Linked DNA regions of Homo sapiens: regions 2, 3, 4, 5, 6 and 7 are each linked to region 1. Evidence: promoter capture Hi-C in 16 types of primary human blood cells and fetal thymus (Javierre and others, 2016). All regions are on one chromosome and are shown on one strand. The core of a region is centred on a gene start or on the middle of the fragment in contact, and the rest is flanking DNA. Distances in the headings are between cores, read along the strand shown. Region 1 holds the start of DNAJA1 (DnaJ heat shock protein family (Hsp40) member A1). Region 2 holds the start of LOC124902138 (a long non-coding RNA gene). Region 3 overlaps ACO1 (aconitase 1). Region 4 overlaps ACO1 (aconitase 1). Region 5 overlaps ACO1 (aconitase 1). Region 6 has its middle 14 kb from the start of ACO1. Region 7 overlaps UBE2R2 (ubiquitin conjugating enzyme E2 R2).

What was found. Contacts are between HindIII fragments. The CHiCAGO score rates a contact against its expected background, and 5 or more counts as called.
Region 2: a contact is called between a fragment that was not itself captured here and the fragment with the promoter of DNAJA1 in region 1, in 4 of 17 cell types (M1 macrophages, M0 macrophages, M2 macrophages and 1 more). The highest score is 9.9, in M1 macrophages.
Region 3: a fragment that was not itself captured here is called in contact with the fragment with the promoter of DNAJA1 in region 1 in 4 of 17 cell types (endothelial precursors, M1 macrophages, M2 macrophages and 1 more); the score reaches 7.7 in endothelial precursors.
Region 4: a contact is called between a fragment that was not itself captured here and the fragment with the promoter of DNAJA1 in region 1, in 4 of 17 cell types (endothelial precursors, M1 macrophages, M2 macrophages and 1 more). The highest score is 8.9, in endothelial precursors.
Region 5: a contact is called between a fragment that was not itself captured here and the fragment with the promoter of DNAJA1 in region 1, in 5 of 17 cell types (M2 macrophages, M1 macrophages, M0 macrophages and 2 more). The highest score is 13.7, in M2 macrophages.
Region 6: a fragment that was not itself captured here is called in contact with the fragment with the promoter of DNAJA1 in region 1 in 1 of 17 cell types (erythroblasts); the score reaches 5.0 in erythroblasts.
Region 7: a fragment that was not itself captured here is called in contact with the fragment with the promoter of DNAJA1 in region 1 in 1 of 17 cell types (fetal thymus); the score reaches 7.7 in fetal thymus.

Annotation. Positions count from the first base shown.
Region 1 is chr9:33,023,743-33,026,522 of GRCh38, reverse strand. It overlaps DNAJA1 (DnaJ heat shock protein family (Hsp40) member A1), which reads right to left and starts at 1,250. Exons shown (of 9, transcript NM_001539.4): 1 at 1,140-1,250; 2 at 1-48. The coding sequence starts at 38. It also overlaps a transcript of APTX not described here. RefSeq lists enhancers at 600-669, 626-1,220, 1,198-1,492, 1,815-2,410 and silencers at 770-909, 1,190-1,339. The HindIII fragment of the contact is 3,848 bases long and covers 301-2,780 here.
Region 2 is chr9:32,466,338-32,469,037 of GRCh38, reverse strand. RIGI (RNA sensor RIG-I) reads left to right here. Exons shown (of 18, transcript NM_014314.4): 15 at 1,106-1,276; 16 at 2,597-2,700. LOC124902138 (a long non-coding RNA gene) reads right to left here and starts at 423. Exons shown (of 2, transcript XR_007061449.1): 1 at 1-423. The HindIII fragment of the contact is 254 bases long and covers 1,289-1,542 here.
Region 3 is chr9:32,420,178-32,423,073 of GRCh38, reverse strand. ACO1 (aconitase 1) reads right to left here. Exons shown (of 21, transcript NM_002197.3): 8 at 2,047-2,218. Among named protein-coding and RNA genes, the nearest start is that of ACO1, 37 kb to the right of the region's middle. The HindIII fragment of the contact is 5,989 bases long and covers 1-2,896 here.
Region 4 is chr9:32,438,675-32,441,546 of GRCh38, reverse strand. ACO1 (aconitase 1) reads right to left here. Exons shown (of 21, transcript NM_002197.3): 19 at 960-1,082. Among named protein-coding and RNA genes, the nearest start is that of ACO1, 55 kb to the right of the region's middle. The HindIII fragment of the contact is 3,679 bases long and covers 1-2,872 here.
Region 5 is chr9:32,399,520-32,402,556 of GRCh38, reverse strand. The region is part of intron 1 of ACO1 (aconitase 1); the gene reads right to left. Among named protein-coding and RNA genes, the nearest start is that of ACO1, 16 kb to the right of the region's middle. The HindIII fragment of the contact is 7,739 bases long and covers 1-3,037 here.
Region 6 is chr9:32,369,316-32,372,354 of GRCh38, reverse strand. No RefSeq gene overlaps it. Among named protein-coding and RNA genes, the nearest start is that of ACO1, 14 kb to the left of the region's middle. The HindIII fragment of the contact is 7,926 bases long and covers 1-3,039 here.
Region 7 is chr9:33,818,954-33,821,793 of GRCh38, reverse strand. All of the region lies in intron 1 of UBE2R2 (ubiquitin conjugating enzyme E2 R2), which reads right to left. Among named protein-coding and RNA genes, the nearest start is that of UBE2R2-AS1, 1.5 kb to the right of the region's middle. The HindIII fragment of the contact is 284 bases long and covers 1,179-1,462 here.

The sequences.
Region 1 (2,780 bases), core at 1-2,500:
ACCCCCAAAACATCGTAGTAAGTTGTTTCTTTCACCATCTTCTACTGCCTGAAATAAGAAAATGCAACTTTAACCGGCTTTCAACTGGTAGCTTTTAATAAAAAAGAGAGCTAAGGCCGAGCAATCTCTTTGCAAAATCCGATTATAAGAACACCACCTTCCCTAAATTTCACCAAAAAGGTAACAATTCCTGCGATAATTCAGCTATAAACTCGAACAGACAAAACAAATAATCATTATCGGGAAATAATCTGAGAGCCGCCTTCTAGCAGCTGGTTCCAATTTTCCTACACCAAAGCTTCCATACTAATATAACACAACTATTATCTGGATTCTTCCCGTTTGCCCTAGAGGCGGTGACAGTTGTAACCAAAAGAAGCACTGATATGTTCAGTCTACCGGTCATTACACTATCACTGTCTTTGGCAAATCTGATAAACTCCATATACTCTCCAGAAAAAGACGTCTGGGCACACAGTGGTGGGGGGGAGTGGTTTATAGAACAGGTTACTGGCTCCACACAGCAAGCCCTCCACCGCCCACGGCTTACAGCTTCTCCAGCCGAATCCCTCTCGCCCCTCAGGCTGGCAGAGTTTACCTGCCAGGTTTCCCCTTGCACTTGGCGCTGACCGATTTCCTTCCTTTCTCCCTCCCACCCTGGACCCAAGTGGCGGTGGGGAAAGCCCAGCCCTCAACAAACAAAGGGAGGGGAAACAGAGAAAGCGAAACCAAAAGCCGCAGTCTCCGCCCGGCTCCCCCCGCAGCCCCTCGCCCCTGCCTCCCTGTGCGCGTGCGCAGGGTCGCCAACCCCACTCCCCCCCCCCACCCCGAGCGAGCACGGACGGGGAGGGGGGCCGCGGGGGCGCGCACGGAGGGGCAGCCGAAGACAGTAGCTCCTTGGAGATCCCAGGCTGGGGAAGGAGGGAGGTCTAGGAAAGGTCTCGGGCCCATTCACTGTGCGTGCCGGGGATGGGTTGCCAGGGCACCACACCAGCCCTCCAAAAGGGAAATCGTGGGCCCAGGAACTGACAGCGGTCCTACCCACGCGGCCAACTGCCTCCCGACCGCGGCTCCATCGGTTTCCCGGCGCCAATGGCGCCAGCCAGGGGACTAGGGGCAGCGCGAGGGCTCAAACTCACCGGTGCGGGCTGAGGCCGGTGTGTGAGGGAGCGGGAAGGAGCGCCGAGCTGTGCGCAGCCGGGGTAGTTACCGCTCCTCCGCCTCTCACCGAGCGTTCTGGAAAGTTCCGCCCGGCGCGCCGCAGCCGTCCTCTTTTGTAGCCGAACCCGGGCGCGTCACCCGCCGGAAGTCCCGCCCTTCTCGGCCGCTGCCACCGCCCCGCCGTTACCTGGGCAACGGCGCGGGGGCGCACGGGTCGGGAGGAGCTGCGCCGAAAGGCCTTGTGGGTGTTGGTGCTAGCGCGGCTTCCCGGCGCTCGTGGAATCTTCTGGAGCCCTTTTCTCCACTCAGCGAGCCTGAGAGTGCGGAAGTCTCCGGCTGGTGGGGCATGGCCCAGGAGCACTGCAAGTCCTAGGGTTCCCAAACCTGTGGGGTGGCCGCCTGGGCCCGCGAGGGCGGGAAGGGCTCGAGTACAGTGACCCAGCGGGAGCTGTGTGTGAACGGGAAAGCTCTTGGAACAGTCTTGCCCCCCCCCCCCCCCCTCTTACGGGCGCCTCTTCTCTTTTTGGGAACGTGGCGAGCAAAAAATGCTTGAGCCAGGTGGGTCTAGTCCCCAGACCAATAGCATAGGCCTTGGGTCTTGCTGTTTTTCACGCGTGGTCCAAGGCGGCATAATTAATCAAATTGTGAAGTTGTTAAGGCTTTTTGTGCAAGTCCAGGCCCCTAGACACATGTTATCTGCCCTGGACCTCGCTGATTCGTGCAGATTGAGCTCAGTGTGTCTGGGACTGAGCTAAACAGTGAGACGTTTGGACCGTCTTTGATGTACAGAGGGCCGTGGACTCCTCTGGTCAGGTTTTCACCCAGTTTGGCTACAGAGTAGCCGCAAGAGTGTCTGACTAAAACAATTTGTTTAATTATTTGACCTCACTTTTAAATCCTACGGGTCAGGGAACCTGGATGTACAATCTGCAACGTAAGACCTCGGACTTGAAAATGGTACCACGGGGGCTTAATGGGAATTGGGGTCCGCTTCTTTATCCAGGGACACAGCAGGTATGTCAGTATCTAGCACCAAGAAAGATGGAGTTTGCCACGCTCGGTGGCTCACGTGTGTAATCCCAGCACTTTGGGACGCCAGCGTGGGCTGATTGCGTGAGCTCAGAAGTTTGATACCAGCCCAAGCAACATGGTGAAACCCCGTCTCGATTTAAAACAAAAACAGAACTGGAGATGCAGAGTTGAAAAGCCCCAGTTAGACTTTAGTGAGAAGCCAAACAAGTCAACAGACTGCCAGAGAAACCATGAGGTAGAAGTCAGTAGGGGAGAGCCTCCTATATTAACCTGATAGATCAGAGAGAATTTCTTTGGGAAAGTGGCAATTGAGCTGAGTTTTGAAAATGGGAGGAGAGCAGTGGACAAAGCACAGGGGAAGGCTATACTAAGGTGTGGAAGAATATGATGTTTTTAGGAAATTGCAACTAATTGGATATAGCCATAGCTAAGGGAGCTAGAATAGCCGGAGGTGAGGCTTCAAAGCTAGTTAGGGCATGCCTTTGTCTGTTGGTATATATGCTACGCTAAGAATTTTGAACTTTATCCTTGGAAGCATCCTCATGCTGCCTCTTCAGCCTTTTCTCTTTCATTAATTTTAACTGTGC
Region 2 (2,700 bases), core at 166-2,665, 560 kb after region 1:
GAAATAACAAGAACATGGACAATTTTTAGGGGTCTGGTTTGGAAGAGACACACATGACCTCTGTCTACATGCCATTAGTGACAGTTTAGATTGCGAAATATAATTCAGCTGTGTGTGCCTAGCAGGAGAAAGAAACAAGATTGGTGAGCAGATAGCATTGCCTCTTTCATAGAGAAACATAATACAACTGTATTGTGGGTGGGTGTGGCAGAAAATGATTCTTAGTTTGTGTATGGGGAGGCAGACACCCCAACAGTGCACACTATTAGGGTCTTAAACTGAAGTTCAAGGCCCAACACTGCTGATAGCTAGCTTGTCAGTTTACCTCACTTCTGGAACCTCAAGCCCCTCATTTGTGTCTTTTTTTTTTTTAAGATAGAGTCTCATTCTCTTGCCCAGGCTGGAGTGTAGTAGTGCCATCATGGCTCACTGCAGCCTCAACTTCCCCAGCTCAGGTGATTCTCTTACCTAAGCCTCCTGAGTAGCTGGGGCTACAGGTGTGTGCCACCATGCCCAGCTAATTCTTAAATTTTTTGTAGAGATGGGTTCTCCCTGTGTTAACCAGGCTGATTTCAAACTCCTAGGCTCAAGTGATTCACCTGCCTTGGCCTCCTAAAGTGTTATGACTATAGGCGTGAACCACCATGCCTGGCACGACCCTCGTTTGTTAAGGGGAATCAGAGCACTTACCCTTTGACCTATAGGGCTTTATGATGCTCTGGTGAGTGAGAAGATGTGAAAATGTTTTGTCAGCTATAAATTCTTACACACATGTAAAGGTGTTACAATTAGGTGTTGATATTTCTGCAAAAATGTCTATTTCTTGGATAATATGGCTAAAGCCATACAACTAGTAAGTCCCCCAGAGCTGGGATTTGAACTCAGTCTTGTGGCAGAGTCTGAGTGTTAGATGCCACCCTAAATGTCCTTTCTGAAACAGGCATAGGAATAGATCCCACTGCCTAGGTGTGTTGTGAGATCATGGATATAAAGTACTTATCACAGTACTTGGCATATAATAAGCATTCCATAATTAGTAGCTGTTTTTTCAAGGGGGAAGTTCCCTCTTTGGTGAGTTGTATAATGCCCTCTTACTCTGACACAGGAATGACCCTCCCGGCACAGAAGTGTATATTGGATGCATTCAAAGCCAGTGGAGATCACAATATTCTGATTGCCACCTCAGTTGCTGATGAAGGCATTGACATTGCACAGTGCAATCTTGTCATCCTTTATGAGTATGTGGGCAATGTCATCAAAATGATCCAAACCAGAGGTAAGAGAAGCTTTGAGGCCATTCCTACATGGATTCTGTTTTGACTGATTTATAAGTGTATGTGTCATTCTGGCCTTTCTCTTTACTGAGCCATGGTTGAGTATGTGACCAATGGCACAGTGCACTTTGGTATCATTGGCCCTTAAGGTGGCTACAGTTTTGTTCACTAACATAAACTCTACTTTGATTCTTACAATGATGCTGCTCACTTGCCTGGCATTGACTGATATATTTATGGAAGAATAATTCCAACTTGGATTGAAGCTTTGCCAGTCAACATGTAAACCTTTCATGGTGGTGCTGGTGGGCTGAAGGGCCCCCTGTATTCAAGAAGGGATACTCCAGAGTTGTTCTGCCCCACCTGGACTTGACTAGTCTCCTAACTATTCTTTCCTCCTTTTTCCTTTTCTTCTTAAAATTCCATAAGTACAGCTATCATATTACTTTTCCTGAAAAACAGCTCGATCGTGTCACTTCCTTGTATTGAAACACCAGTGGTTCCCCAATTTACTTGATGCTAAAGAGTTTCCAAAATCCAACACCTATTTCATTCCAACTTTATTTCCCATTCTTCCCTTTTGTGCATTATCCACTTCCGCCAACCTGACTTCCTCACTTATTGCTTGTTGACGGAACTGCTCAGATACTGCTACTCTTCATTTTACCTCTTCCCCTGCCTCCATATCACCTGACCCTAATCCTCCCAGCTGGCAAAAATCTCTCTTTTGAACATATAAAGCCTATAACCTTTTATATCTGTCTTTGTAATAGCACTTAAAATTTTCCACCTATGTTTTGCTGGTTATGAAGAGATCTTATTTCCTCATTGTCTAGAAGGTTCTTGAAGGAGGGCCTGTTTACTGCTCATCTTAGAGCCATCACAGTGTCATACTGGGGGTTCATGTAGGTATCTTTAAAGCAGTGTTTCTGACAGTACGGCTGTCTAATCACCCTGCATTGTTGAGACCCTGAGAAAGCCAGCCTAAGGTGGGCTCCTAGTTTTTCCACATATTTAACATGCAGGTGCACACCTGCATTTGAGTCTTTTTTTTTTTTTTTTTTTTTTTTTTTGAGATAGGTCTTGCTCTGTCACCCAGGCTAGAGTGCAGTGGTGTAATCCTAGCTCACTGCAGCTTCAAACTCCTGGGTTCAAGCAATCCTGCCTCATGAGTTCACTCTTTAACAGCTCAACTTTCCTGGGAAGTGGGATTCAGTGAACCAAAGTTGAATTTTAGGAGTACCTCTATTTGTTTACCTATTTGCAGATTATATCAGAGCTTTAAGTCAAAAACACCAACTAAAATATTTATTTTCTAATAGGCAGAGGAAGAGCAAGAGGTAGCAAGTGCTTCCTTCTGACTAGTAATGCTGGTGTAATTGAAAAAGAACAAATAAACATGTACAAAGAAAAAATGATGAATGAC
Region 3 (2,896 bases), core at 48-2,547, 600 kb after region 1:
GATTCTGGTTCTATCTATAGATAACCCGCCTCTTTTGGGGTATAGCCTTTAATTAGGAGAATCTTACACCTGAGCTAATTGTGAAAGCACACCTATGCATTTGCCTTCAACTGGCCACAAAGATTCAGCATTCCACATGATTACCGTTAAAATTAAAACGCATCCCAACCCCACCTGAAACCACTGGCTACTGAGCACTTTCTGGGCACTGTGTCCTAAACATTTTAAATGTATTACCTCAATCTCTAATCCTTTATCATAGTCTTAAGATACAAGTACAATTATTATTCTCATTTATGGATAAGGAAATGGCGGCTCAAGAAGACTAAGTAACTTTCTCATGTAACACAGCCAGTAAACGGTAGAACCAAAATCCAAACCAGAGCTTGACCCAAAAGTTCAAAGTCTTAACTCACGATGCTGCATCACCAGGAATATGACCTTGAACCCTCTGCTATTTAACTTTTATCAAGATCCCGGGGTAGGAGATAATACTCATGAAGTATGCCCAACGGACATGCAGTCCACAATTTCTCTGATGGTTAGAAACAGAAGGTTTGATCCTTTGGCTGATCCTACCACTGATCAGAACTTTTGTTTGTCTATTTGTTTTAGCTGAACTGTAAACGTCATTAGCTCTCAGCACAGACCTCATAAAAGACAGCTGTATGAGCTTCACTAATGTATTTGTCCTGACCTGTTGTTGAGCCCGCTGTTCACTACAACCCATGCCATGCTCTTCATGAAGATGAACAGGAGAAATCTTTCTTAGGGTTTACTATGAGAAAGGGCTACACTATTCTGAAGCAATATGTTTGTTTCAATTTAATAGATGTTACAAATTTGGCACTGGATTACCAAGAAGTATAATGGCCACCTGCAGCACCACGGGAACTAACCAACTAACCTTCCCTCTAGATCCATCTCACAGCTTTTATCCCTCTACCCAGCACACTATCCCTCTCTTTCTTTAGGTTGATTCCCTCAATTATTTATTCTGTTCTTTTAGTTATCTTTTTCACTTAAAATCCTTTGGGAGAACAAAGATGTATTAATCAATTTCAATGTGTTTATATTTAATAAAAACTTCTTTAAATAAACTTTTTCATGACAATCTTTACTATTTCTAGAGGAATTTCCTCAGGCTACAGCAGAAGACTAAGATTTATTTGGAGTCTGTAAGATTCTCATGAAACCCTTCCCATGGCTGTCCCTTCACTTCATCCAGAGATCTGTGCAAGCACCTCTGGGGTACTTCAGCCACCTCCCCTTTCTTTCTCATTATCACATCACACTCTCATTTCTTTTCTTTTTTCTTTTTTTTGAGACAGTCTCTCTGTTGGCTAGGCTGGAGCGCAGTGGTGCGAGATCGGCCCACCATAACCTCCACCTCCTGGGAGTTTCGCCATGTTGGCCAGGCTGGTCTCGAACTCCTGACCTCAGGTCAGATCTGCCTGCCTTGGCCTCTGAAAGTGGTGGGATTACAGGAGTGAGCCACCATGCCTGGACTCATTTCATTTTTTAGACATCCCTGAGAGGGGTGTTGCAGAGTGCTGTTCCTGTATGGGGCCAGGCAGTTGCAGGGTTGGATTCTGACTCTGCTGTTTATTAGCCTTGGGTATGAACACTTCTCTGCTCCTCAGTTTTCTCTAATGTTAATTAACTAGTCAATCAATCTACCCTACAGATCTGTAAAGAGGTTGACAGCAAATACATACTAGGTACCTGGTACACAGCAAGTACCCCATAGGCAGCAGTAACCATTACTAAGATCACTTGTTTAATGTCAAAAAACTAGTAGTAGAGGACCAGTATAAATATCCAGGCTTCTGTAATCTCTGAGCTCTTTCTATTGGCCATACCATCTCTATCTCATATTAACTCCTTAAATCCCAAAAACCCATTTTGACTCCATGGAGAAAAAAATAATTGTGTAACTGTAACCCAGTGCCTTCTGTTGGGTAGAGGCAGAAGGCAGTGCTCAGATTCTTGGTGTTTCATGGAACTTTTACAAAAAGCCCGATGCTTTCAGGGCCCTTCACTTACCTGTTTGCACCAGGTACGTGATACTAACTTCATCAACTGGGAAAAAGGCAGCAGTTGCTCCGTACTCTGGACACATGTTAGCAATCGTAGCTCGGTCAGCAATGGACAACTGGGCTACTCCAGGCCCGAAGAACTCGACAAATTTGCCCACTACCCCAACCTGGCGGAGGTGCTAAGCAGCAGAAACAACAGAAAAGTTTGAGATCTGATGGCCCACATTCAAAATGCAGAACTACCATCTTGCACTTCTTATAAACTAGTCTTGTCAGTAAACCCAAATAGTAAATCAGCCCAACACATTTGTGATCACTTTCAAAACTTAAAAAACAATGCCAACTAAATGCAACATGGTATCCTGGATTGGATTCTGGAGCAGAATTCTGGGACATTACTGAAAAAACTGGTAAAGTCTGTAGTTAAGAGTACCACACCAATGTTAACTTCTTAGTTTCGATAAATGTGCCATGGTTATTTAAGATGTTAACATTATGGGAAGCTGGGAGAAAGATAACAGGAATTCTCTGTACTCTTTATACTAACTCTCCCATAAATCTAAGATGATGTCAAATAGTTTTTATTTATAAAAAGAAAGACAAAGTGTGCCCAAAATACAAATGATATTAAGAAAAATATTTCAAGATGAGAAACATTCTCTTTCTCTAATGAGATCATTGGAAGCGTCTGGAAGTGCTACATATTAAATTCTTTCAACCTAAATAACTACTTGCACTAGTTAAGAAAATAACTTTTCAAAGGCGTAATGAGCAAAATTCATGCTACAAGTATAAGTCAAATGTAACCAAAAGATTCCCATATCTTTTCCACACAAGGCACCAGCCAGGAGTGAGGC
Region 4 (2,872 bases), core at 173-2,672, 590 kb after region 1:
TTTCCTCAGAGCAAAATAACCAATTAAAATAATAGGTGTGATGTTCAAAGACATTATCAGAAGCCTAAATGTCTGGAGAACTGCCTGCCAGACAGCCACATTTTTTTACTGTACTTGTGGATATGAACTTAGTGTTTCCGAGGTGCATTAATTTGCGAGCCACAAATGATTTAAATTGACATCAGGTAAGCCATGTGTACCCCACCCTGAAGATTCAGGCTGGGTGGCATGATTCTTCTCTGCTTTTAGGGCAAGCAAATGCTCAAGAGGCAAAAGCTCTCTGCTCCCTGCATGGCCCCTTCTATGGGGACACCTCAAGAGGTAGAGCCCCGAGATGGCGGAAGGTTCTAAAGAGCTGCCTGGGTATGTGCAGAGTGAGTTTCACTCTCATCGAGAGCCCATAAGCAGATATTCATAGGCAGTGAAGTGCAATTATAAAAAGTGATTCTCCCAATTTTCCAGGAGACTTAGAACCCATTCTTGCCAAAGTAACTCCTGAAAAAGTCCAGGCTCCTTTTCTCTTCTGTGAAACTGACAGATAATACAATGGCCCTGGCTTATTCCTGACATTCACCTGGAACAAGGGACCTGAATAAATTTGGGGTCCTCAGCCTCTGAGAATGTTATAAAAGCCATGACACCTCTCCCCATGAAAGACATACATGTATACTTCTGGATATGTTTTCAGAGACTTCACAGACCCTACCCCAAAACTGTTCTATAGACATGCCCCCAAGGTCCATTAATGAATGATAGATCCAGTTCAACTCTGCATTGCCCTTCACCAAATAAAATAAATCCAGAGGCACCAAGAAGCAGGCCAGGAATAAACACTACCTGCTTTTTTGAGCTTGCTCTTCCTTGACATCTTCTTGGAAAGTAAAGCAACAGGATTTGTGCCTGGGGACCCTCCCAGTTCAGAGGGGAGCTGCCTCCTAGGATGTCTACTTCATACTCACCAGCAGGAAAGGGCCCTTAGCTGCCCAGTCTCGGGAGCTGCCTGCACCGTACTCTTTGCCAGCCAGAACGATCAGGGGAAGGCCTGCCTGCTGGTACCGCTCAGCAGCATCAAACACATCAAGCTGAGGAAGAGAAAAGGAAGTTTTACAGATGCAGGAGAGGCAAAGAATGGACACAGGTCCCCTGAGCCCTGGTGAGGGCGGGGCTGGATGGGTTTGCAGATGGCCAAATCCGTCCAATCATCTTGTCTACAAATTCCCAATTATCTTGATCTTTTTACTTCTACCAAATTAAATTTTGTATTCTTTTTTTTTTTTTTGAGATAGAGTTTCACTCTATTGTCTAGGCTGGAGTGCAGTGGCACGATCTCAGCTCACTGCAACCTCCACCTCCCGGGTTTCAATTGATTCTCCTGCTCCAGTCTCCCAAGTAGCTGGGATTACAGGCGCACACCACCATACCCAGCTAATTTTTGTATTTTTAGTAGAGATGGGGTTTCACCATGTTGGCCAAACTGGTATTGAACTCCTGACCTCAAGTGATCCTCCCACCTCGGCCTCCCAAAGTGCTGGGATTACAGGCGTAAGCCACTGCATCCGGCCTTAAATTTTGTATTCTTAAAAACCATTTTATATTCTTTTGACAGAAATGCCTAATTGTTGTTGGTTTTATAAAAACATTAGAATCCTAAGGCATCAGGGGAGAAAAGGAAACTAGATCAGATTTTTTCTTTTCCATTGACTAAATTATTTTAAAACTCAAAAAACAGAATGTGACCTAAACATTTTGGCTCAATATCAGAAACTCGGTGATGTCAGTTGTAAAATTAGCAAAACACAAAGAAGGTAACATGTTCTGAAATTATATAAAGTGCAAACTTTTATCAGTCCCCTTTCTTCATGGAGGTCAAGGGAAGAGATGCTAGAAATGCAAATGGAAGCCCAATAAAAGGTAGAAAAAGATTAATATTTTAGTACATGAGAAACATCTTATACAAACAGATTTGTTTCTCACAGGGAATCTGAATATCTCACTGAACTGAGACTTTACAAAGACATGATATCATCTCTGGTGGTTGAGCAGTACCATTATTTTTCCAGGCTATGTAAGTCAGAAGATAAAATTCCTCAAAAGAGAGACAGGAGCTAAAGAAAACTCTCAAACAGACTTTCACAAATTTGTATTTTGGTGTACTGATGGAACCTGTGGTTAATTTCGCATGCATTACCTAAACCCGGATAGGATTCTGTATGTCTTCAGCTAGACAGAACTCGTAAATATAGAAACTGTCATAGAAACAGTGAAAACCTTCTTCTAACTGAATTGTCTGGATCCTTTCAAAGACCAGAAAGAAACAACTTATCTGATATTTTCAGAGACTGTAGCTTTGGGTATTAACAATGTGAGAGTGTGTGCTTTAAAAAGTACTGCAAAGTTGACAATCTCATGGCAAAGCACGTCATGTTACCCAAGATCAGAGGGACTAAGCAGGTCTAGAACTCACGTCTCCTGACTTTTCTATTAAACACGCCATGCTGAGAGCCACTGACAGCTTAGAAAGCAACAGCTCCCTGCACTCTTACGCTCTTCTAAAGAGAACATAGCATTTAGCTATTTCTTCTGTTACTGTGCCTGTGTATCTCTAGGTATTATGTTTAAACTACTAGTTCTTGATTTCTCCACTTTTTAAAATTATCTGTCAATATTCTACTTTGAGGATTTACTTCTCTTAACAATCTCTCCTCTTCCACACATCTCCCTTCTTCCCAACCTCCCAATATAGTTATTTTGGTAAGTCAGCATTTGGTGTTTGCATGATTATGACTACATAAATACTATTTACAGCTGAGCCAGGTAATGTGCTGTGATTTCCTTTTCTTGGTGATTTAAGACATGTTTCACTGGAGTCAGT
Region 5 (3,037 bases), core at 330-2,829, 620 kb after region 1:
GGAACCCCACCATTGGCCAGGAAGCCCTCCCTATGTCCCACATCCACATAAAGCACAGGTCCCACTGTTTCAATTCCTTTCTTATCTCCCACTCTCTCCTCCTGCTACTTTGTTCTTGGCTCTTTTCTGTTTTATCTGATCTTCATTCAACAATAAAAGATAGGAATGAACAAACGAAGACAATGAATGTGGACATTTTGGAGATGGCAGAGTATCTAAATATATATGGTGTTTTTCTTTTTTGAAAGAGGGAAGAGTTAGCATATATCACACTATTTGGGGTTGCTGCTTTCTTTGTTCTATAGAATGAGATGATACTACATGGTGGCAAGAAGAGAAAAGAGGAGAAGAAAAAAGAAAAAAAAAAGAAGGAAGGAATGGGAAATGGTATCTTTTAAGGTACAAGGTGGGAGCAATTATTCAGAACTTGTCCCTCCGGGACGCTTGTCAGAATGATGAAGACAGCTGAACACTTGTCCCTGGCCACTGAATCAAGGAAGACAGATGAACAGTTCTTAAACAAAAGGAATAAAAACGGAGCTACTGTATCTGAAACCCTTCATTACATGTAGTTCACATTCTGAAAGTCAAGATAATTATTTGGTAGAGAAACAGTGTCTTTCAAAGCTAACCCATCCTGAAATACTAGCTGGGTGACTTGTACAGGGTTATGATTAGCACAGGTACACTCTGCATGCAAGAACGGGGGTGGGCATGGACAGTCTGAACACCAGATTTTTAAAGTAGGTCACTAAAAAATAACAAATATTATGCAAAGGCAGGCAGAACTAGGGTAAGACATTTAACAAATGAGCCATGCTCCCAGTAAAAGGGTGGGAGGAGTGAAGAGCTAGGGTTTTTCCCCAACCACAGTCTTGCTACCAACTGACCTTTGGCTCAATTGAGGACACTTGCAGGTGCCTTGGAGTAGCACCTTTTGTGCATACATAGCATGGCACTAAGGCATGGCACCAACCTGTCACCATTCCCTAGGGACACCTTGACCTTAGGTGCTAAGGAGGTAATGAGACATAGAATGTTGAGTTTTTAGTAAAGAACCTTAGCAATCATGTAGCATTCCCCAGAGGAAGACAGAGAGGCCCTGAAAAGCAACTGACTGCCTAGGGTCACAGGACTCATTAGTGGGATAACCAGAAAAAAAAAAAAATACAGCTGATTTGCCCTCCAGTGAAATGCAAATTTCCCTCAGGGGGAAAAAAAAAACCCTTAAAATCTTTCACAGGTAGAGTTGAAAAAAGTACTACCTAGGTGTATCACAGTCTTTTGGTGCTTCTGTGATGTTAGTTCTATAATCACTTACTAAAACTTCCATGTGTTTCAGAATTCCAGAGAACTGACAGCTAAACTTTGGAAAAACAACTTAAATTTAGGTTTCTGATGATCTGCCCTGGGTGCCACTTTTTTCCAAAAGCCACAGTAAGGGCAAATCAATTTTCCTGATATAATATTGCGTATACAATCCCTTACTCAGATTCAAGATACAAAATGTTAGTAAAGGCTCACATTAAATGATATGAGAATTTTAAAGTTGCAAAATAATATATATATGTATATACTAGGATCTGATTTAAGTGAAAAAAAAAAAAAACTTCAAGACCATTAGTGTATATTCATTCATACACACACACCATTGCATATGCAAATGCACAAAAAAGAAAGACATAAAGTTAACATGGATTACAAATAGAATAACACATTGTATAAAGGGGAGACTTTAGCTTTCTATGTTTCATACTCCTGTATTATTCAAATTCTATTTTTGATAAGCATGCATTCATTTACTACTTACTTCTTAAAACACTGGAGCGGTCATTTAAACTTTGTACATAAATACCTACATTAGCATCTCTATAAAATGAGAACTTGACATCTTCAGCAATACCCTTTGAAAGAAAGATAGAATGGTCCGTAAAGTTCCTGGAACTACAAATGCAGATCTTTCTTTAATAATGACTGGTGAAGATGTATTTAAATTTGTGACTATAACTCCAGATAAAGTCCACTTTGCTCCCCTCAATATGTCCTTTGATATTCACCAACAGAGAGAAAGAGCTGTGAAGAGAATCCCTGAATGGCTCAAATTTAGCCTTAGATGAACAGTGCCACACCTCATTCAAGTCAAACACACTAATCCAAGGGGGGCCCTCCCTTCCCACCCCATCCCCAGCTCCCTTTCCAATCTCAGCAGGATACCAAATTTGTTACTGAACCACATCTTCTTGGGTGGTGGTAACTTTAAAAAATATTACACTAAGGAATAGATACAGCCAGGCGCAGTGGCTTACACCTGTAATCCCAGCACTTTAGGAGGTCGAGATGGGCGGATCACCTCAGGTCAGGAGTTTGAGACCAGCCTGGCCAAGGTGGTGAAACCCTATCTCTACTAAAAGTACAAAAATTAGCCGGGCATGGTGGCACACACCTGGAGTCCCAGCTACTCAGGAGGCTGAGGAAGGAGAATTATTTGAACCCAGCAGGCGGAGGGTGCAGTGAACCAAGATCGTGCCATTGCACTCCAGCCTGGGTGACACAGCGAGACTCCATCGCAAAAAAAAAAAAAAAAAAAAAACAGAAAAAGAAAAAAATAAAAGAAATAGATGCTCACTGTAGCAACAACAGAAAATGCAGGTGAGCAAAAAGAACAAAATAAAATCCTTTGTAATACCATGATTTACAGTTTCATTTACCATGACTTTTAAACGCATTTGAATTTTTCAAAAAAAAAAAATCACTAGACCTCACATTGTTTTGCTAATTGCTTTTTTTCACTCAACAATAAACCTCAAATATCTTAATAGGACAATCGTGTGATATTTTACAGCACTTTAAACTATACCATAAAAATCTATCCTTCAGATATATAACAATTTCCCTATTATTAAAATACTTAGGTTGTTTCCAAGTACTAGCATTCAAACAATGATGCCTTGTATACTCACATCGTTAGTAGGTCCTTAAATCATTTCTTTCAAATAAATTTCTAGCTTTCAGTTCCTAGAAAAGAGCCGAGTGAAAG
Region 6 (3,039 bases), core at 469-2,968, 650 kb after region 1:
AATGTCTCTCTACTGAGGATGGTGTTGGATTTTTGTTCTGTTTAATGCCCCTTGTAATTATTGGCAATGACACCAAAGATCAGGAGGTCAGTGTAAATTCCCTTGTATTGGTTGCAATGGATAATAGACTGGCCATAGGCCAGATTACATCCTGACTGTCTGAAATAAAGTCTCCTGTTCTCCCCTGGGACAGTTGTCTGAGGGCAGAGCCCTGGAAGGAATGATTGAGGCCAATACTGCAGGTTAATTTTATCCTGTTGTTTGGAGTCCCTTTGATGGTAACCTTAATTAAATGCTATATGAGACCAATTGAACAGGTTTAGTTCTAGCCCTGATGGTCAAATTAATCCGAGTGATCAACAGAGTGACATACTTATGTGAAAGTTTATGAGAAGCCAGTACACATAGGGACAGAGGGAGGATTGAAGATAAAGGCAATCTCTCACAGGTCCTGAGTATCTGTGCGCATTTTTGCTGGGTGTGCCAAGAATTCAAGGCCCTGACTGCTCTTTACCCAGGCCATTTCTCAGGGTTGTGTTTTAGTGAGCAACCATGAGGGTTTAAATTTTATAAAGTCAGGTATTTTCTTGAAAATTATTGCATTTGAGAGGGGGCAAGAAGTGAATGAGTATATAGATGAAACAATATTGTCCAAAACTTTATAATTGTTGAGTCTGGATCATGACATAATTGTGGATCATGGATGTGTGTGGGCTTAAAGAGCAGGCTTTCTTACCCCTTACTGTGAAAACAGTGAATCTCCAAGCTCAGTGTTCCCTGGCTGCAACATAAATCCATTGTATGTGTTGCATCCTTCTGGGTCCCTCTGCATCATCCTGGTGGGACTTTGAACAAGGAGACCAGATGCAACATGATACTTATGCTACTTGCTGTGTCATGAGTAATGATGGGACTCATATGACCCAGGAGTCTTGTGTCTTCTGCCAATATCCATAAAATAGTACAGGCTCTTATTAGATTACAAGTAGAGTAAAATCCCAAACTCTGACAGGTATCTGTGTTTTGGTTTTGGCTATGGTGTTTGGTTGAAATCACAAGGCACAAATTTGGCCATGTAGTTTTGTTATTACATTGAGGAAAAAATCAGCTTGTCATGTATCTGCACCAAATTTTACCAACCTGGAAATTTAGAACTTTACTATTTAGTGAATTAAAAATTTTTATTATTATTAATAATAACCATTTACAAAAGAGAATATTTTAATGAACTATGAGACTATAATAATGAACTATAATGAGAATATAATAATGATGTCTATAATAGTTTAAATATTACTCATTTTCAACAATTATCAACTCATTGCCAATTTTGCTAGTTTTATATATGCCTTCCATACCCTGACTGAAGCACATTTATAGTCATATATTTTATTTGTTATATATTATGTTTTAAAATCATTGACTAGAGTTTTCTTTGTTGTATAGTATCTGTATTCTCCATGTTTTTCAAGACCTATATTGTGAATAGAATATGTAACTTCATTAATAATACAAATAAGCATTACAATTCTCCACCTGAAATATTTTGTAGGCAACCAAAGCTGTATATAGTGGCAAATGTATAGCCTTAAGTTCTGTAGCTATTTAAAAAAAGAGAAACTAATGAAGTTAGAAAAAAACTAAGGGAAATATAAATTAGTATCACAAAATATCAATGAAGTAGAAAATATATAGAATTGACACTAATTCTGAGAACAATATCTTTGGAAAAAACATTGAAATATACAAATCTCTGACAAGTTAAATAAAAATGGGTTTAAATATGTGAACATTTATTGAGGTATATAACTACAAATATGACTGTTAGAAAACTTAATGTAATACTGTGAAATACTCCATGCAAATAATTTTGAGACTTACAAGGAGACAGACCATTTCCACAAATATATATATAAAACTTATATCCACGGTAGATTCTACTCCTCAGAGATTCAGTTGATTTTGTTTCAGGTGCTGACTTCTGTTCTTTGTTACAGTCTAAAGTCCTCCTCATGCTTAGGGATTTTGTGTCCTCTTCATATTTTTCTGAGCAACCGCATTCCTGCATCCCTGTAGGCTGTCATTATTGTCCCAGCAATATCCGACATGGGTCAATTTGTCTCCTTTCCTGGTTCTACATGGAAACCACTTGTATTAGGCCATTCTTGCATTGCTATAAAGGAAAATCTGAGATTGGGTAATTTATAAAGAAAAGAGGTTTAATTTAGTTGGCTCACGGTTCTGCAGGCTGTACAGTAAGAATGGCGACGGCATCTTCTTGGCTTCTGAAGGAAGCCTCAGGGAGCTTTTACTCACGGCAGGAGGCTAAGCAGGGGCAGGTATGTCACATGGCAAGAATGGGAGCAAGAGAGAGAAGGGGGAGATGCCACACACTTTTAAACAGCCGGATCTCACAAGAACTCACTCAGTATCATGAGGACAGCATCGAGCAGATGGCTCTAAGCCATTCATGAGTAAACCATACTCATGTTCTAATCACCTCCTACCCGGCCCTAGGACAGTGGGGATTACAGTTGCACATGAGATTTAGAGGGCACAACATCCGAGCTATATCATATCATATCACAGTAAGGCACTAGAGCAGGGGCTGGAAAACTTTTTCTGTAATGGAGCAGATAACAAATATTTTAGTCTTTGTTGGCATTACAGCTTCTCTTCCTCCTCCCTTCTCCTTCTCCTCCTCCTCCTCCTCTTCCTTCCTTTTCGTCTTCTTATTTTTACAACCATTAAAAATATAAAAACCTCTTTTAGCTCTCATGATTTATAAAACAGGTTACTGGCTGTATTTGACCTATGGGCAGTAGTTTCTGACTCCTGTACTAGAATATAGTGGCTAAAAAATACAGGCCCTAGAGCCATGTTGTCTTTAAATCCTGGGTTTGAATCTAGGATTTGTAGTTGTGTAGTAGTTGTGTCACATGTAAAAAATATTTGACATCTCTGTACCTTAATTTCCTCACCTAGAAAACAGTGGTAATAATAATTTTTACCTCATAGAGTCGTAATGGAGATTAAATA
Region 7 (2,840 bases), core at 71-2,570, 800 kb before region 1:
TACAAAAAGAATTAGCCAGGTTTCATGGCGCACGCCGGTAATCCCAGCTACTCGGGAGGCTGAGGCAAGAGAATCGCTTGAACCCAGGAGGCAGAGGTTGCAGTGAGCTGAGATCGTGCCACTGCACTCCAGCCTGGCAAAAGAGTGAGACTCCATCTCAAAAAAAAAAAAAATTTTTTTTTGTTATGCATATCATAAAAGAGGCACTCTTTCTGGCTCTAGACTCACTGCTATAATGCTTTAGATAAATAATGCAAAAGTTCCAAGGAGGTTCAGTACTAAAGCACCCACACTAAGCTACAATCCTTAGCAGGAGTTATTTGAAAAGATAGTTCCAGCCGGGCATGGTGGCTGACGCCTGTAAAACCAGCACTTTGGGTGGCTGAGAAAGGAGGATCCTTTGAACCCAGGAGTTTGAGACCAGCCTGGACAAAATAGTGAGACCCTACCTCACTTAACAATACTGAAGAAAAAAAAATTAGCCGGGCGTAGTCATGCCTGTAGTCCCAGCTACTCAGGGGGCTGAGGTGGGAGGACTGCTTGAGCCTAGGATGTGGAAGCTGCAGTGAGCCATGATCACACCACTGTACCCCAAACTAAGTGACAGAGAAAGACCCTGAAAAAGTTCCTTTCAAAAGAAAGGGGGTGAACTTGTTAAAAGTCTTCATTAGCTACTGACTTGATCCACAATTTATTTTTCTAGTAACAATAAAATTCCGACTTGCTTAGGTAGCAAAATAAGAAACTACACAAAAAGATAGTAAGGCCAAAAAAGATTGTATAGTATTCAGAATGGACAGAAGAAACTATCTTTGCCCATCCTACATCTATATGGCCCAAAACTAAGAATCACGTGGATTGGCGATATTAAATAAGCGAAAGCAGGATGAATAAAAAAATTCTGTGAAATACAGGTCTCACAAATCTCCAATGCAGATCCTGTGGGTAAGAGACAAGAGCCAACTATTTCAGGGTGAAAAAGATCAGTTAGAAACCTATTAATATATAAAAGTTAAAGGAATTACAGTATGAAAAATGTAAAGAATGACTGGCAGTCCCACTGCCTTCACGAATGACTATGCCAAAAAGGGAAAAGAGTTTAACTTGAAAATAAATTATACTAAATGTTCAAGGACTAACATTTAATAAGGGAGAAGAGTGATATGGTAGGGAAAGCTTTGTGCCAACTTTCAACTGCAGCTGTAGTGAAATACACTAAAAGCCTTGTCTTAAGACAAAAGCAGTAAAATAAAAACAATGGTTTTAAACATATCCCCAGTGTCAACTGCTCATGACCATAAATTTGCCTTTTTCTAATGAACAACTAATGGGATAAAAGGCCATATAAGGGAAAAAGTAGTCGAAAATACAATCGAACAAACTTCTCACACAAGACTAAACCATAAAACCTGTTTACAAATTTTCATACATGTCAGAATTAAAGGTAAAAACACTCAAAGCTTAAGAAATCTAACATCACAAAGCACGAGATTAAATCATTCTTTTAAACAAGGACTGAAGTTCAGAAGCATTTAATTTAAATCAGTGTATTAACACAAGGAATCCTTCCATACTTCCTATTTCAGAGAGGGTTCTCCACACTCCTTTCCCAGACTTATGCACAAATATTACAACTTGCAACCCATTATTTTCTCTCATGTACAAGTTTTGTTTTGTTTTGTTTTGTTTGCTCTTGTTTTTAACTTTATTGGAGTGAGATTATTCTAACTAGTACCCATTTATTTATTTTAAATATCGGTTGTACCAAACAATGACACTTTTTGGAAATCAAACTTTATTCCACTAACATTAGCCAGCAGATTTTGCTAAACAATGTTTTGTCAGAAAAGGCATCATGGCCGGGCGCAGTGGCTCACGCCTGTAATCCCAGCACTTTGGGAGGCAGAGGCGGGTTGATCACAGGGTCTGGAGTTCGAGACCGGCCTGGCCAATATGGTGAAACCCCATCTCTACTAAAAATACAAAAATTAGCTGGGCGTGGTGGCGTGCGCCTGTAGTCCCAGCAGCTTGGGAGGCTGAGGCAGGAGAATAGCTTGAATCTGGGAGGCGGAGGTTGCAGTGAGGCGAGATCGCGCCACTGCACTCCAGCCAGGGTGACAGAGCGAGACTCCGTCTCAAAAAAAAAAAAGAAAGGTATCACATACATTCAATTTTGTACAACTAATTTTTCCAGTATGCATAAAAATTTATATTTGACAACAGAGAATATGCTTCATCATAAACACAGCAATATCTTTTCCACTTTGTTACTAATAAGTTGCATGTTTTCTTAGTAATTTTAAATACCTCCATCTGAAAAGTATAGGGTAGGCTGACCACAAAAGATGAAGCCTAACAGTTGGTAGGGGTACCGCACTTACATAATATTCTAAAAACGTGCTTTTCCTAGGTACTCAGTGACTATATACAGTAGTGAATATTAAACATTCCTGTATCAATCCCATTTCCTACAAAGTTGACCTAATTTCAAGCATAAAACTGAGGTTTCCACCTTTAGAAGGGTAGAAAACAAGAGTTAAGTAATTGGGTAGTCCTAAAAATACACATCACAACTACATGACTAAGATACTCATTTAAAACTTGTGCCAAGATAACCCCTCCCTTCCAAACTAAAATTGACTCACTGGCCTATTTTACTTAATTTTGAAAATAAAAAAATAAAACTAAATGGATTCCTAAGCACTCATTTCCTCTCTCTGCCCCCATCATTTAAAATATTCAGACTTTCAATCTGTGATTCCTCCCTGCAAAAACACTCAAGTAAAAACAAAACAAAACAAACACTCATTATCTCCAAGTTAACTACCTTGGAGTTAAAA